Linked DNA regions of Homo sapiens: all the other regions are linked to region 3. Evidence: promoter capture Hi-C in human tissues and cell types (Jung and others, 2019). All regions are on one chromosome and are shown on one strand. Each heading gives the region's core, a stretch centred on a gene start or on the middle of the fragment in contact. The rest is flanking DNA. Distances are from core to core; before and after follow the strand shown.

Region 1 (4,595 bases), core at 284-2,783, 36 kb before region 3:
ATGTGTAGTAAGGATTGAGGACTGGTTGAAGGCTTTGCCACATTCTTCACATTTGTAGGGTCTCTCTCCAGTATGAATTTTCTTATGTGTAGTAAGGTTAGAGGAGCACTTAAAAGCTTTGCCACATTCTTCACATTTGTAGAATTTCTCTCCAGTATGAATTCTCCTATGTGTAGTAAGGATTGAGGACTGGTTGAAGGCTTTGCCACATTCTTCACATTTGTAGGGTCTCTCTCCAGTATGAATTTTCTTATGTGTAGTAAGGTTAGAGGAGTACTTAAAAGCTTTGCCACATTCTTCACATTTGTAGGGTTTCTCTCCAGTATGAATTATCTTATGCGTAGTAAGGTCTGAAGACCGCTTGAAGGCTTTGCCACATTCTTCACATTTGTAGGGTTTCTCTCCAGTATGAATTCTCTTATGTGTAGTAAGGGTAGAGGAGTACTTAAAGGCTTTGCCACATTCTTCACATTTGTAGGGTTTGTCTTCAGTATGAATTCTTTTATGTGTAGTAAGGGTATAGGAGTACTTAAAGGCTTTGTCACATTCTTCACATTTGTAGGGTTTTTCTCCAGTATGAATTATCTTATGTGTAGTAAGGGTTGAGGACCGGTTGAAGGCTTTGCCACATTCTTCACATTTGTAGGGTTTCTTTTCCGTATGAATTATCTCATGTTTACTAAGGGTTGAGGATGACATAAAGGCTTTGCCACATTTATCACACTTGTAGGGTTTCTCTCCAGTATGATTTCTCTTATGTGTAGTAAGAGTGGAGGAGTGCTTAAAGGCTTTGCCACATTCTTCACATTTGTAGGGTTTCTCTCCAGTATGAATTTTCTTATGTCTAGTAAGGCTACAAGAGTGGTTAAAGGCTTTGCCACATTCTTCACATTTGTAGGGTTTCCCTCCAGTATGAATTTTCTTATGTGTAGTAAGAGTTGAGAACTGCTTAAAAGCTTTGCCACATTCTATATATTTGAAAGGTTTTTTCCCAGTATGTCCTCTCTTTTGTCCGTTTGAATTTGGAAATTGATGAAGGACTTTCACATATTTATCACATTGACATATTTTTCTTGGGGTAGTTGTCAAACATTGGTTAAGTTCATTATAACCTTCTTTGTGCACCTTACACTCATCCACACTTATACATCCTTTTTTTAACTGTAAATTGTCATGTTCACATTTTTCATATCTTCTCAGTACCACTTTTTGGAAAGAATCTTTCATGCTCTGCTCTGGCCAAAGGTCTTGGGCAAAATGAGAACACATTACTGAAAGAAACAATAAAAACACATTACTTCAATTGGTAGACTCAGATAAATATAAATATATATATGCAGTTTGTATAGTTTTATACAAACTACATAAGCAAGATGACACAGGAAAATACCACAAGCTGTAATTTCTTCCTGGACATATGAATTTAACAAAAACATACTGATCAAAATACATTTGTAAAAAACTTATAATAAGTTGTGAAGGGCCCCAGGTGAGCACAATGCAAACGGCCAAATAGAAGAAATAGAAAAGTCTGTTACTTATACACAACACAGCTGGTTTTGCTCTCCAGTATAACATTGTGCCTTTAAAAGTAAATTGTTGACTGGCTGGGGTGACACACGCCTGTAGTCCCAGCATGTTGGGAGGCTGACGTGGGTGGATCAGAAGGTCAGGAGTTCAAGACCATCTTGGCAAAGATGATGAAATTCAATCTGTACTAAAATTACAAAAAATTAGCTGGGTGTGGCGATGGGGCACCTGTAATCCCAGCTACTCAGAAGGCTGAGGCAGAGAACTGCTTGAACCTGGGAGGTGGAGGTTACAGTGAGCTGAGATTCCCAGAATCTCTAGTTAAGACAATTGATTTCAGACTATGCCAGGACACAGCTACATTATAAAGATTGTAACAGGTAGCATTTTGTTAATGTAAAAATCTCAAAGATTACAATAAATACAAAATAGTAGAGCAACGTGATCCCATCAAAAAGTTATAAAATTTTTAAAGCAACCATAAAATGTATATGAGGTAATTTAAAAAATTCCCAATAAGTTGTACAGGTCAAGCTTAGTGGCTCATTCCTGGAATCCCAACACACTAGGGGGCCAAGGTGGGAAAACCACATTAGGTGAGAATTTGAGACCAGCCTGGCCAACATGGTGAAACCCTGTATCTACTAAAAATACAAAAACTAGCTGGGCATGGTGGCATGTGCCTGTAATCCCAGCTACTTGGGAGGCTGACACACAACACAAGAATTGCTTGAACCTGGGAGGGGACAGTTGCAGTGAGTGAATATTGTACCACTGCACTTCAGACTGGATGACAGAGCAAGACTGTCTCAAAAATAAAATAGGCTGGGCGCAATGGCTCATGCCTGTAATCGCAGCAACTTAGGAGGCCACCTTGGCCTCCTAATTTGAGGTCAGGAGTCCAAAATTAGCCTGGCCAACATGGTAAAAACCCATCTCTGCTAAAAATACAAAAAATTAGCTGGAATGCTGGCAGCCACCTGTAACCCCAGCTACTTGGGAGACAGAGGCCGGAGAATTGCTTGAACTCGGGAGGCAGAGGTAGCTATGAGCTGAGATGGCGCCACTGCACTCCAGAGCCTGGGTGACAGAAAAAGACTCCATCTCAGAAAAACTAACTAAATAAATAAATTTGAATAACATTAGGTAAGTGAAACAAACAAGTACTGAAGATAAAAATGAGGATAATAATAAGAAATATTGAAATAGCAAAAAAACAAAAATTGTGGATATAAAAAATGCAAAAAACAATTGAAAAATTTCTTAAAAGGAAAAATGATGTAAACATGAAAAAGCTGAAGAAACAAACTAGGATACACACAAAGATATTTGTAACAAACACACATACAAGCAAACCTTCAAAAATCATAGATAAGAAGAGAATTTTAGGAGCTGTAATGTAGGCAGATGTAATGATGAAGAATTTTTGTATTCAACTGAAGTTTATTTTTTACCACATTCAAATATATTGTTGGATCTTTTAGAGGTTTTATGTAATCTCCCAAAGTACCACTAAGAAAATATTTGTATGGATACACAAAAGAAAATTTAAAAAATCCTGGAAAAATACCAATACAAAAAGCAAAAAACCACGAAAACCACAGAAAGAAAAGGAAAGACAAAGATATAAGAATCAAATAAAACAAATAATAAAATAACATTAGTAAGTTTTTCTCTTTCAGAAAACCATTTAAATATATATATAATTATCTTTCCAATCAAGAGATATACTTTCAATAAACAGGTTTATTAAAAAATTTTAAAAATCAAGAGTCAACTTGCCTTTCTACAGGAGTCAGTTGAGATCTACTGACAAAAAAAGACTGAAAGTGGCAAGACAGAAGTAGAATTTCATGTAAATATATTTTTAAATTTTATTATTATTACACTTTAAGTTTTAGGGTACATGTGCACAACGTGCAGGTTTGTTACATATGTATACTTGTGCCATGTTGGTGTGTTGCACCCATTAACTCGTCATTTAGCATTAGGTGTATCTCCCAATGCTATCCCTCCCCCTGCCCCTGACGCCACAACAGTCCCCGGTGTGTGATGTTTCCCTTCCTGTGTCCATGTATTCTCATTGTTCAATTCCCACCTATTAGTGAGAACATGCGGTGTTTGGTTTTTTGTCCTTGCGATAGTTTGCTGAGAATGATGGTTTCCAGTTTCATCCATGTCCCTACAAAGGACATGAACTCATCATTTTTTATGGCTGCATAGTATTCCATGGTGTGTATGTGCCACATTTTCCTAATCCAGTCTATCGTTGTTGGACATTTAGGTTGGTTCCAAGTCTTTGCTATTGTGAATAGTGCTGCAATAAACATACATGTCCATGTGTCTTTATAGCAGCATGATTTATAATCCTTTGGGTATATACCCAGTAATGGGATGGCTGGATCAAATGGTATTTCTAGTTCTAGATCCCTGAGGAATCACCACACTGACTTCCACAATGGTTGAACTAGTTTACAGTCCCACCAACAGTGTAAAAGTGTTCCTATTTCTCCACATCCTCTCCAGCACCTGTTGTTTCCTGACTTTTTAATGATTGCCATTCTAACTGGTGTGAGATGGTATCTCATTGTGGTTTTGATTTGCATTTCTCTGATGGCCAGTAATTATCAGCATTTTTTCATCTGTTTTTTTGGCTGCATAAATGTCTTCTTTTGAGAAGTGTCTGTTCATATCCTTCGCCCATCAAAAAGATGGGGCTGTTTGTTTTTTTCTTGTAAACTTGTCTGAGTTCATTGTAGATTCTGGATATTTGCCCTTTGTCAGATGAGCAGGTTGCAAAAATTTTCTCCCATTCTGTAGGTTGCCTGTTCACTCTGATGGTGGTTTCTTTTGCTGTGCAGAACCTCTTTAGTTTAATTAGATCCCATTTGTCAATTTTGGCTTTCGTTGCCATTGCTTTTGGTGTTTTAGACATGAAGCCCTTGCCCATGCCTATGTCCTGAATGGTACTGCCTAGGTTTTCTTCTAGGGTTTTTATGGTTTTAGGTCTAACATTTAAGTCTTTAATCCATCTTGAATTAATTTTTGTATAAGGTGTAAGGAAC
Region 2 (4,470 bases), core at 142-2,641, 55 kb after region 3:
AATTAGACCATAGGTTTGATGGCACTTTGACTTTAAAAAAAAGACTTACTAGGTTGTTTTTTTTTTTTTTCCAAAAAAAGGAGAGACAGTCCTGATTAGGTCTCTGTTGCCAAATCCTAAAGATTCTAGGCCCTATAAAGTGAGACATTAAAAGGATTATGCATCATAATAAGGCCATTCTGGGTAAAGTCATTTCTATTCATCTCCATTACTTTGAGAGTAATCTGTCAAAGACAAATTAACTGCCAGAGGAAACTTATGAAAAAATATTTGTTCTCAAAAGCTGTAACGTATTTATTTTACCTTCAGTCTCCACTTGCCAAAACCATAAATTGCAGAATATCTCCATTAAAGCTCATGCCAAATTCCAAGTCTCTCCTCTGGCTGTCATTTGCGAGATGGCTCCTCTTCAGGTTCCTGTTAGCTATGTGCAAAGACAGCCTAGGCAATGACAAATCAAGAGATAAATAATTTCTGAGATTTCCTGAGTTGATTCTTTCGATCCCAGCACTGCTTTTCATTAGAATTTCTAAGTCCCTCTTCCTATAACAGAACTACCAGCCCCAATGTGCTTGGGAGCAACTTATTTGCTCTGGAAATTAGCACAATATGAAGACTCAAGGCTGAGACCTACAAAACTTGGGTTCAAGTTAAGTTGTTTTTTGTTTGTTTTGTTTGTTTTTATCAAATGGGAGTATGACTTTGAGTTTATCACCTCACATCCTACTTGGAGGATCCAAAGCATTTTTCTTTGAGCGTACTCTTGAGATATCATAAATACAATCCCATTGTTAGGAGAGGTCCCAGAGCCCAATTCCAACCCACTTGTCCTTGAACCTTCTCTAAAACAACCTGAAAAAGAATGGTCTTGGAGCTTATGCCTGAAAGCTTCCATGCCAGAGAACTCACCCCCACCCACTGCCACCACCAGAAAACCAGTCCAGCTGCCCTGTTTGTTTGGTTTGATTCAGTTGTGAAGCAGCTTTGTAGAGAGTGAAGAGCAAGATACTAGAAGGTACACAAACTTCAGTGTTATGGAAAATTGATTGTATTTCTATCCTATGACTAATTATTTGTCCTCACTTTTGTTTACAAAATAGAAGGCTATTATAACCTTGTGTCTTACAAGTTTGGTGATAATTACAAACAGGCTAAGCATTCAGTAAAACATCATTTTTCTCCTATTTGCTCTAACTGAAGACAGGATTACTTTGAATGACCAGAACAGTCGTATGCTTGCAATAGCTAATTTACAATAACTCTAGAGTTCTTGAAGTTTGCCCTAGGGCATTAAAGATGCCAACTATGGCCTATGAGAAATATCAAAGCATGAGACAAGGCCATTCAATAAGAAGAGGTCAGAAATTTCTCAACTGCTGCAAAATTTTTTAGCAATAAACTCATTTCTGGTAAGTCTTTTACATCACCCACTCCTACCTTTACATACAAATGTGAATTATTACCTAATTTTTGTATCAGTGAAAGAATTTGAGGATAGCCTGAAATGATATTGTGGGTTTTGGAGCTTACAAATCTTGGAGAAAACTTATCTCAGAGTCAAACATGGCCTGGTGATTACCTAATTCCCAGGTAGGCCTGTAAAGTCTCTCTGCGATCCTGCTGGCAAATGCTCCCTGTCTTCATTACACAAGACCAGCCACGGAAACAAATGGGTATCAGTTATTTTAACTCCAACTCTTAGAAAGTGCTTGTATTTAAGTTTTTGATCAAATGTATCTATTCATATGTTTTGGAAAATTAAATCGAATAGAGAGATTAAAATGAAAAATAAACTTCCTGCCCCATGCCTAACAGTCTCTAACCTCTTTTCGTACAGGCTAACTGTGTTTGGCCTTTTCTGCATTGCTACAGAGAAATATCTGAGGCTGGATAATTTATAAAGAAAAGAGGTTTAATTGACTCCTGGTTCTGCAGCCTGCACAAGAAATGTGGTGCCAGCATCTGCTCAGCTTCTGGTGAGGCCTCAGGGAGCTTTACTCGGCAGAAGGTGAAACACCTCCCACCAGGCCTCACCGCCAACACTGGGGATTACATTTCAACATGAGATTTGGAAGGGACAAATATCCAAACTATATCAGTAACACTATTTAACTCTTAAAACTATTTCTAGGCTGGGCATGGTGGCTCGTTCCTGTAATCCCGGCACTTTGGAAGGCAGGTCACTTGAGGTCAGGAGTTTGAGACCAGCCTGGTCAACATGGTGAAACCCCACCTCTACAAAAAATTTGAAAATTAGCTGGGTGTGATGGTGCATGCCTGTAATTGCAGCTACTCAGGAGGCTGAGGTGAGAGAAAGGCTTGAGCCTGGGGGGCAGAAGTTGTAGTAAGCCAAGATTATGCCAAGGCACTCCAGCCTGGGGGATAGAGCAAGATTCTGTCCCCACTCCCACACACAAAAAAAAGATTTCTAAACTTATATTTCTGATTATCATCCACCTTTAATCTGTTATTGCACTATATTCCTTGATTAATTTGAAATAGCATTTACTGACGCGCTATTCTGACAAAAGATTTAACTTCCTTATATCATCCCAAGCCTTCCCTTAATACTCCTGCCAGTATGATTCTTTGCCTACTTTTTTTGTTTTTCTATTAATTACTTTTGTAACTTTAAATAAATGTTCACCATTATATTTCTTTTTACAGCAACTATAGGAAATACCTCTTCTCTAGTTGAGATAAAGTTTATTCTCTAATTTACTAATGTTTCAAAGATCACCTGACCTTATTTGCAGAGATAATATTTTTTAAATCTCAACCTTGCAAACTGTCAGGGTTGATAATATTTGCATTCCTTTCCAAGATGATACCTGTCTTCTGTCCTTTATCTATGGTTTATTATGAAAGCAGGAAGTGAATCATGTTTTGTTTGTTATTCCTCTTCCAAGTACTATTTGCTGCAGAACCAAGCCCTTGTTTAGGATTAATTTTGTGGGTTTTGTATAGCTATTTGGATTTTTCTGGAGTTTCTAATTCTCTTCTTACTTCTTCATATTGTCTTTAATATGTTTTTAAGTAGTTCTATCTTCCTAGGGATCATATGAAATCTATGAAACACCATTTTTTACAAAATGTCTCCTTGTTGGAGCCTCTGTTTTCTTCCTTCTGTCTGGAGTGCTGCTTCCAGGCCTGCTCCAAAGCTGCATCCTGGCACTCCTCCTTCTCTCGGTCACCCTGGATCCACCTTTCTTTGGATCCCATGTCTTCCACATTCTTAGCCTCCTCATTTTGCTTAAGAAAATCATCCAGTAACATCCTAAGAAAGTTTGAGGAGAAACTTCTTAGTTTCTGTAAATATTTTTTTATTCTCTATTCATCCAGATTGAGTGTTTGGCTTGGTATTTTTCTCTTTTTTTGGTTTTGCAATGCATTTTTCTCTTTTTTATAATACTTTAAGTTCTAGGGTACTTAAGTTCTAGGTTTGTTACATAGGTATACATGGGCCATGTTGGTTTGCTGCACCCATCAACTCGTCATTTACATTAGGTATTTCTCCTAATGCTATCCCTCCCCCAGCCCCCAACCCCCTGACAGGCTCCAGTGTTTGATGTTCCCCACCCTGTGTCCATGTGTTCTCATAGTTCAACTCCCACCTATGAGTGAGAACATGCGGTGTGTGGTTTTCTGTCCTTGTGATTGTTTGCTTAGAGTGATGGTTTACAGCTTTATCCATGTCACTGCAAAGGACATGAACTCATTCTTTTTTATGGCTGCGTAGTATTCCATGGTGTGTATGTGCCACATTTTCTTTATCCAGTCTATTATTGATGGACATTTGGGTTGGTTCCAAGTCTTTGGTATATTGCATAGTGCCAAAATAAACATGCGTGTGCTGTGTCTTTATAGTAGCATGATTTATAATCCTTTGGGTATATACCCAGTAATGGGATTGCTGAGTTAAATGGTGTGGCTAGTCTTAAATCCTTGAGGAATCACTACACTGTCTTCCAGAGTGGTTGAACTAATTTACACTCCCACCTACAGTGTAAAAGCATTCTTATTTCTCCCCATCCTCTCCAATATCTGTTGTTTCTTGACTTTTTAATTATCACCATTCTAACTGGCATGAGATGGTATCTCATTGTGGTTTTGATTTGCATTTCTGTAATGACCAGTGATGATGAGCATTTTTTCATATATCTGTTGGCTGCGTAAATGTCTTCTTTTGAGAAGCATCTGTTCATATCCTTTGCCCACTTTTTGATGAGGTTGTTTGTTTTTTTCTTGTAAATTTGTTTAAGTTCTTTGTAGATTCGGGATATTAGCCGTTTGTCAGATGGGTAGATTGCAAAATTTTTCTCCCATTCTGTAGGTTGCCTGTTCACTCTGATGATAGTTTCTTTCACTGTGCAGAAGCTCTTTAGTTTACTTAGATCCCATTTGTCTATTATTGCTTTTGTTGCCATTGCTTTTGGTGTTTTATTTACGAAGCCTTTGCCCATGCCTATG
Region 3 (4,405 bases), core at 202-2,701:
CGTGATGGTGCATGCCTGTAATCCCAGCTACTGGTGGGGCTGAGGTAGGAGAATCGCTTGAACCCAGTAAGCCGAGATCACGCCATTACATTCCAGCCTGGGCACCACAAGCGACACTGTGTCTAAAAAAAAAAAAAAAAAAAAAAAAATACCCTGTTGCAGGCTTAATATTAGCCTTAGCTTGGAGTCACTAGGTTCAAGCTTTAATGTCCACATCAGTTATTCACTTGGTTTTTGAAACTAAGTGTTAGAAACTCCAGTGAAATTACTCACAATGTTTACATAAAGGAATTTTTAAGATGCTTACTTTTTTTTTCTTTTTTTTGAGCCGGAGTCTCGCTTTGTCACGCAGGCTGGAGCGCGATGATTGGATCTCAGCTCACTGCAACTTCCGCCTCCCGGGTTCAAGCAATTCTCGTGCCTCAGCCTCCCAAGTGGCTGGTACTACAGGCACGTGCCAACACGCCGATAGTTTTCGTATTTTTAGTAGAGACGGGTTTCACCACGTTGGCCAGGCTGGTCTAGAACTCCTGACCACGTGATCCACCTGCCTCGGCCTCCGAAGTGCTGGGATTACAGGCTTGAGCCACCGCGCCCAGCAAGAAAGGGGTTTTGAACCCTAATGCAGTTCCTGTTTTTGTTTCCATCCCCTATTGGCTGGGATCAGACCGCACAATCTAAGCTGATCCTGGTAAGCTTAGACCCAAACTTTTTCCAAATAAAGTAAATGCGCGATTTGCGAGAAAAGGAAAAGGGGGTAGAAGAAGAGGTAGGGTTGATTTACAACTTTTACAACTTATGACCAGAAAGTTGAGTCATTTAAAAGGAACTTAGTTGTCCTAACACCTCTTTACCTCAAGTGATCCGCCCGCCTCGGCCTCCCAAAACGTTGGGATTACAGGCGTGAGCCACAGCGTCCGGCCCCATACATTTTTAATAGGAGAAAAGAGAAACTGTAAACCCAAAGGAACAAAGCTCTTCCCATTCATGAACCCGCACCCCGAGTCAGGATTCTCCCCTGCCCACCCTCCCCTGGTCCCTGCACAATCTGGGAGAGACGCCACGCTGCGGGTGCAGAGCTGCCCAGAGAGGGCTCCAGGCCAGGGTAGTCACCGCGCAGTGAAGAGACAAGACGCCCGGGTGCCGGCTGTCAGCGCAGCTGCCATTTTATGGCTGAACAGGACTGAGGCCGAGCTGAGCAAGGAGAACTGGGGGAGCAGACTGTGGAGCTGACTGCGGGGAGGCCTGAGTCCCGCCACAGCCACTTTTCACCGGTTCCAACCAGTCCCTCTCCTCTCTCGGGATGTCGGACCCTCACTCTCACCATTTTTGGCTTCCAGGAGGTCCCGGTGTCTTAGCTGTGGATCTCCCAATACCTGCAGGACACGGGGCCACACAGCCTGGGCCTTTAGGAGAAGAACCAGACCTGGAGCTCTGACTGCAGCGAGAGACAAAGGCCGCACCAAACCCGGAAACCGTCCTCTTCGCTCCAGCTGCGTTCCTGATTGGATGGTTTCCAGCCCACCATCCCTGATTGGATAATGCTTAAGGCCCCGCCCCCTGAGGCCCTGAGTGACAGTAGATGTGATCAGACGCTGAGCTGAGTGAAGAAAGAGTGACAGCCTAAGCTGCAGCCTTTTCAGGCAGGGCTTCCTTCCTGAGCTGAGCCAGGCCCACCCCAGAGCATGGGAGAATTCTATCTTTTCTTTACTCTCTCTCTTTTTGAATGTATTCAAAAGGTGAACAGAAGTATTTTGCTCTCATATTAATAATACATAAAATTTTTGTTCAAGAGAAAATCAACTTTTACTTTGGCAATAATGTATTATCAATACTAAAGGTAATTTTGATAAAACCTTATAAAAAATCAAATTTGTCATTTTTGACCTCTCGAGATTTACATACATATTTTGTAATCTAATGTAATTTTTTAACTTTTTATATTTTATTTTTATCTACATTCTTTTTATTTTTTCAATTTGAAACAACCTTTAAGTAATTTCAAACTGTTACAAGAGACAAAGAAATCATTTAGGGCCAGTCCGCTGGTGCACGCTTGTAATCCAAGCACTTTGGGAGGCCAAAGTGGGTGGATCACTTCAGGTCAGGAGTTCAAGACCAGCCTGGCCAACATGTTGAATCTCATCTCTAGTAAAAACACAAAAAATTAGCCAGGTGTGGTGGTACACACCTGTAGTCCCAGGTGCTACGGCGGCTGAAGCAGGGGAATCGCTTGAACCCAGGAGGCGGAGGTTGTGTAACGGCCTAAGGGCTTCATCTTGCCTAGACAGAGATGATTCATCAAGACAGGGGAATTTGTGGAGGAAAAGTTAAATATTAAATTTGAACTCAGTTGAACATGGACACAAACAATGGTCACCAAGTCCTGGAACAGGTTATGTGAGCCCCTTGAGGCATTCACCTGCCGACCTTCCCCTGGTCCCTGCACAATCTGGGAGAGACGCCATGCTGCAGGTGCAGAGCTGCCCAAAGTGGGCTCCAGGCCAGGGCACAGTCACAGCGCAGTGAAGAGGCAGGACTTCTGGGGGCCTGGCTGTCAGCGCAGCTGCCATCTTCTGGCTGAATGGGACTGAGGCCAAGCTGGGCAAAGAGAACTGGGCACAGATTGTTTTGGAGAAATCTCTATTTTAATCTATTCCTATACGTTAGTTATTGAAAAACAATAGCCAATCGCAAAAAAAACAAGTTGACTTTTTTGTGTTCCTTGAGCCCAGTTGCAAAGAGCCCAGTTGCAACTGGGCCTCATGCCAAACAACTTGTTACAAAAAGAGCTAGGATCCCAGACTGCACCAAAGCTCCAAAGACCTCTCCTTGTCTGTACAGGGATGGGTGGCCGACTCTGGAGCCCAGGCTGTTGCTTCCTGGTCTGCTGATGAATCCTCCATAGTCTGGTGAGTGTAAAGATATATATTTTTTCTCTTCTCCCCTTCCCATTGCAATGCTCTTATTATATCAATTTGCTTATTATATATGCATTGCCATTTACCTGGGATAAAGCTTGTTTACCCTTAAAGGTATTGTGTGCGTGTCTTTTCTTCTCCCCTCATGTGTTTCCTGCACAGAACATATTTCTCAAAGGCTTCATTTGTTCCTTTTTATTCATTTTTGTTTAATCTTGTCTGCATGCCTTATTTTGGCAAGGTGGTCTTCAAACTCTGATGTTCTTTCTTCTGCTTGGTCAATGCAGCTACAAATACTTTTGTATGCTTCAGGAGGTTCTCATGCTGTGTGTTTTAGCTCCATCAGATCATTTATGTTCCTGTCTAAACCAGTTATTCTAGTTAGCAGTTCCTCTAACCTTTTATCAAGGTTCTTAGCTTCTTTCAATTGGTTTAGAACATGTTCCTTTAGCTCAGCAGAGTTTATTACCCATCTTCTGAAGCCTACTTTTGTCAATTCATCCATCTCATCCTCTGTCCAGTTCTGCACCCTTGCTGAAGAGACATTTTGATAACTTGGAGGAAAAGCCGCACTCTGGCCTTTCAGAGTTCTTTTGTTGATTCTTTCTCATCTTCATGAACTTGTCTAGTTTTGATCTTTGAGGCTGTTGACAACTGAATGGTTGTTTCTGTTTTGTTTTGTTTTGTTTTGAGACAGAGTCTCACTCTGTCACCCAGGCTGGAGGGCAGTGGCACAATCTCGGCTCAATGCAACCTTCGCATCCCAGGTTCAAGTGATTCTCGTGTCTCAGATTCCCGAGTAGCTGGGATTACAGGCATGCAACACAACGCCTGGCTAATTTTTGTATTTTTTAGTAGAGATGGGGTTTTGCCATGTTGGCCAGGCTAGTTTTGAACTCCTGACCTCAAGTGATCTGCCTGTCTCAGCCTCCCAAAGTACTGAGATTACTGGTGTGAGCCACCATGCCCGGCCTTGGATGGGGTTTTTGTCGGTACTTTTTTGTTGTTGATGTTGTTGTTTTCTGTTTGTTTGTTTTTCTTTCAGTGGTCAGGTCCCTCTTCTGTAGGGCTGCTGCAGTTTGCTGGGGGTTCACTTCAGGCTCTATTCATCTGGTTCACTCCTGTTCCTGGAGATGTCAATCAAGGAGGTTGGAGAATAGCAAAGAAGAGTGTCCGCTCCTTCCTCTGGGATCTCTGACCTCAAGAGGCACCAACCTGATGCCAGTAGGATCGCTCCTGTATAGGGTGTCTGACAACCCCTGTTGAAGGGTCTCACCCAGTTGGGTGGCATGGAGAGGAGAACCCATTTAATGAAGCACTTTGTTCCTTGGTGGAGGGGAGTGTTTTGCTGGGGGGAAACCCACTCATGTGGGCTGCCCACATTTTTCAGAACTAGCAGGAGGAAAGGCTAAGTCTGCTGGTCCACAGAGACTGCAACTGTAGCAGGACGAGCCACAGACAAAACTCCTCAGACACTGAGTTAA

The links. Contacts are between HindIII fragments. The study calls those that stand out against the background at their distance.
Region 1: a contact is called between a fragment that was not itself captured here and the fragment with the promoter of ZNF626 in region 3, in 1 of the 25 tissues and cell types used here (hippocampus).
Region 2: a fragment that was not itself captured here is called in contact with the fragment with the promoter of ZNF626 in region 3 in 1 of the 25 tissues and cell types used here (liver).

What each region holds. Positions count from the first base shown.
Region 1 is chr19:20,624,380-20,628,974 of GRCh38, forward strand. It overlaps ZNF626 (zinc finger protein 626), which reads right to left. Exons shown (of 4, transcript NM_001076675.3): 4 at 1-1,271. Among named protein-coding and RNA genes, the nearest start is that of ZNF626, 35 kb to the right of the region's middle. The HindIII fragment of the contact is 4,768 bases long and covers 1-3,917 here.
Region 2 is chr19:20,715,254-20,719,723 of GRCh38, forward strand. No RefSeq gene overlaps it. Among named protein-coding and RNA genes, the nearest start is that of ZNF626, 56 kb to the left of the region's middle. The HindIII fragment of the contact is 3,860 bases long and covers 1-3,321 here.
Region 3 is chr19:20,660,120-20,664,524 of GRCh38, forward strand. ZNF626 (zinc finger protein 626) reads right to left here and starts at 1,452. Exons shown (of 4, transcript NM_001076675.3): 1 at 1,325-1,452. The coding sequence starts at 1,327. RefSeq lists a silencer at 1,577-1,646. The HindIII fragment of the contact is 1,409 bases long and covers 449-1,857 here.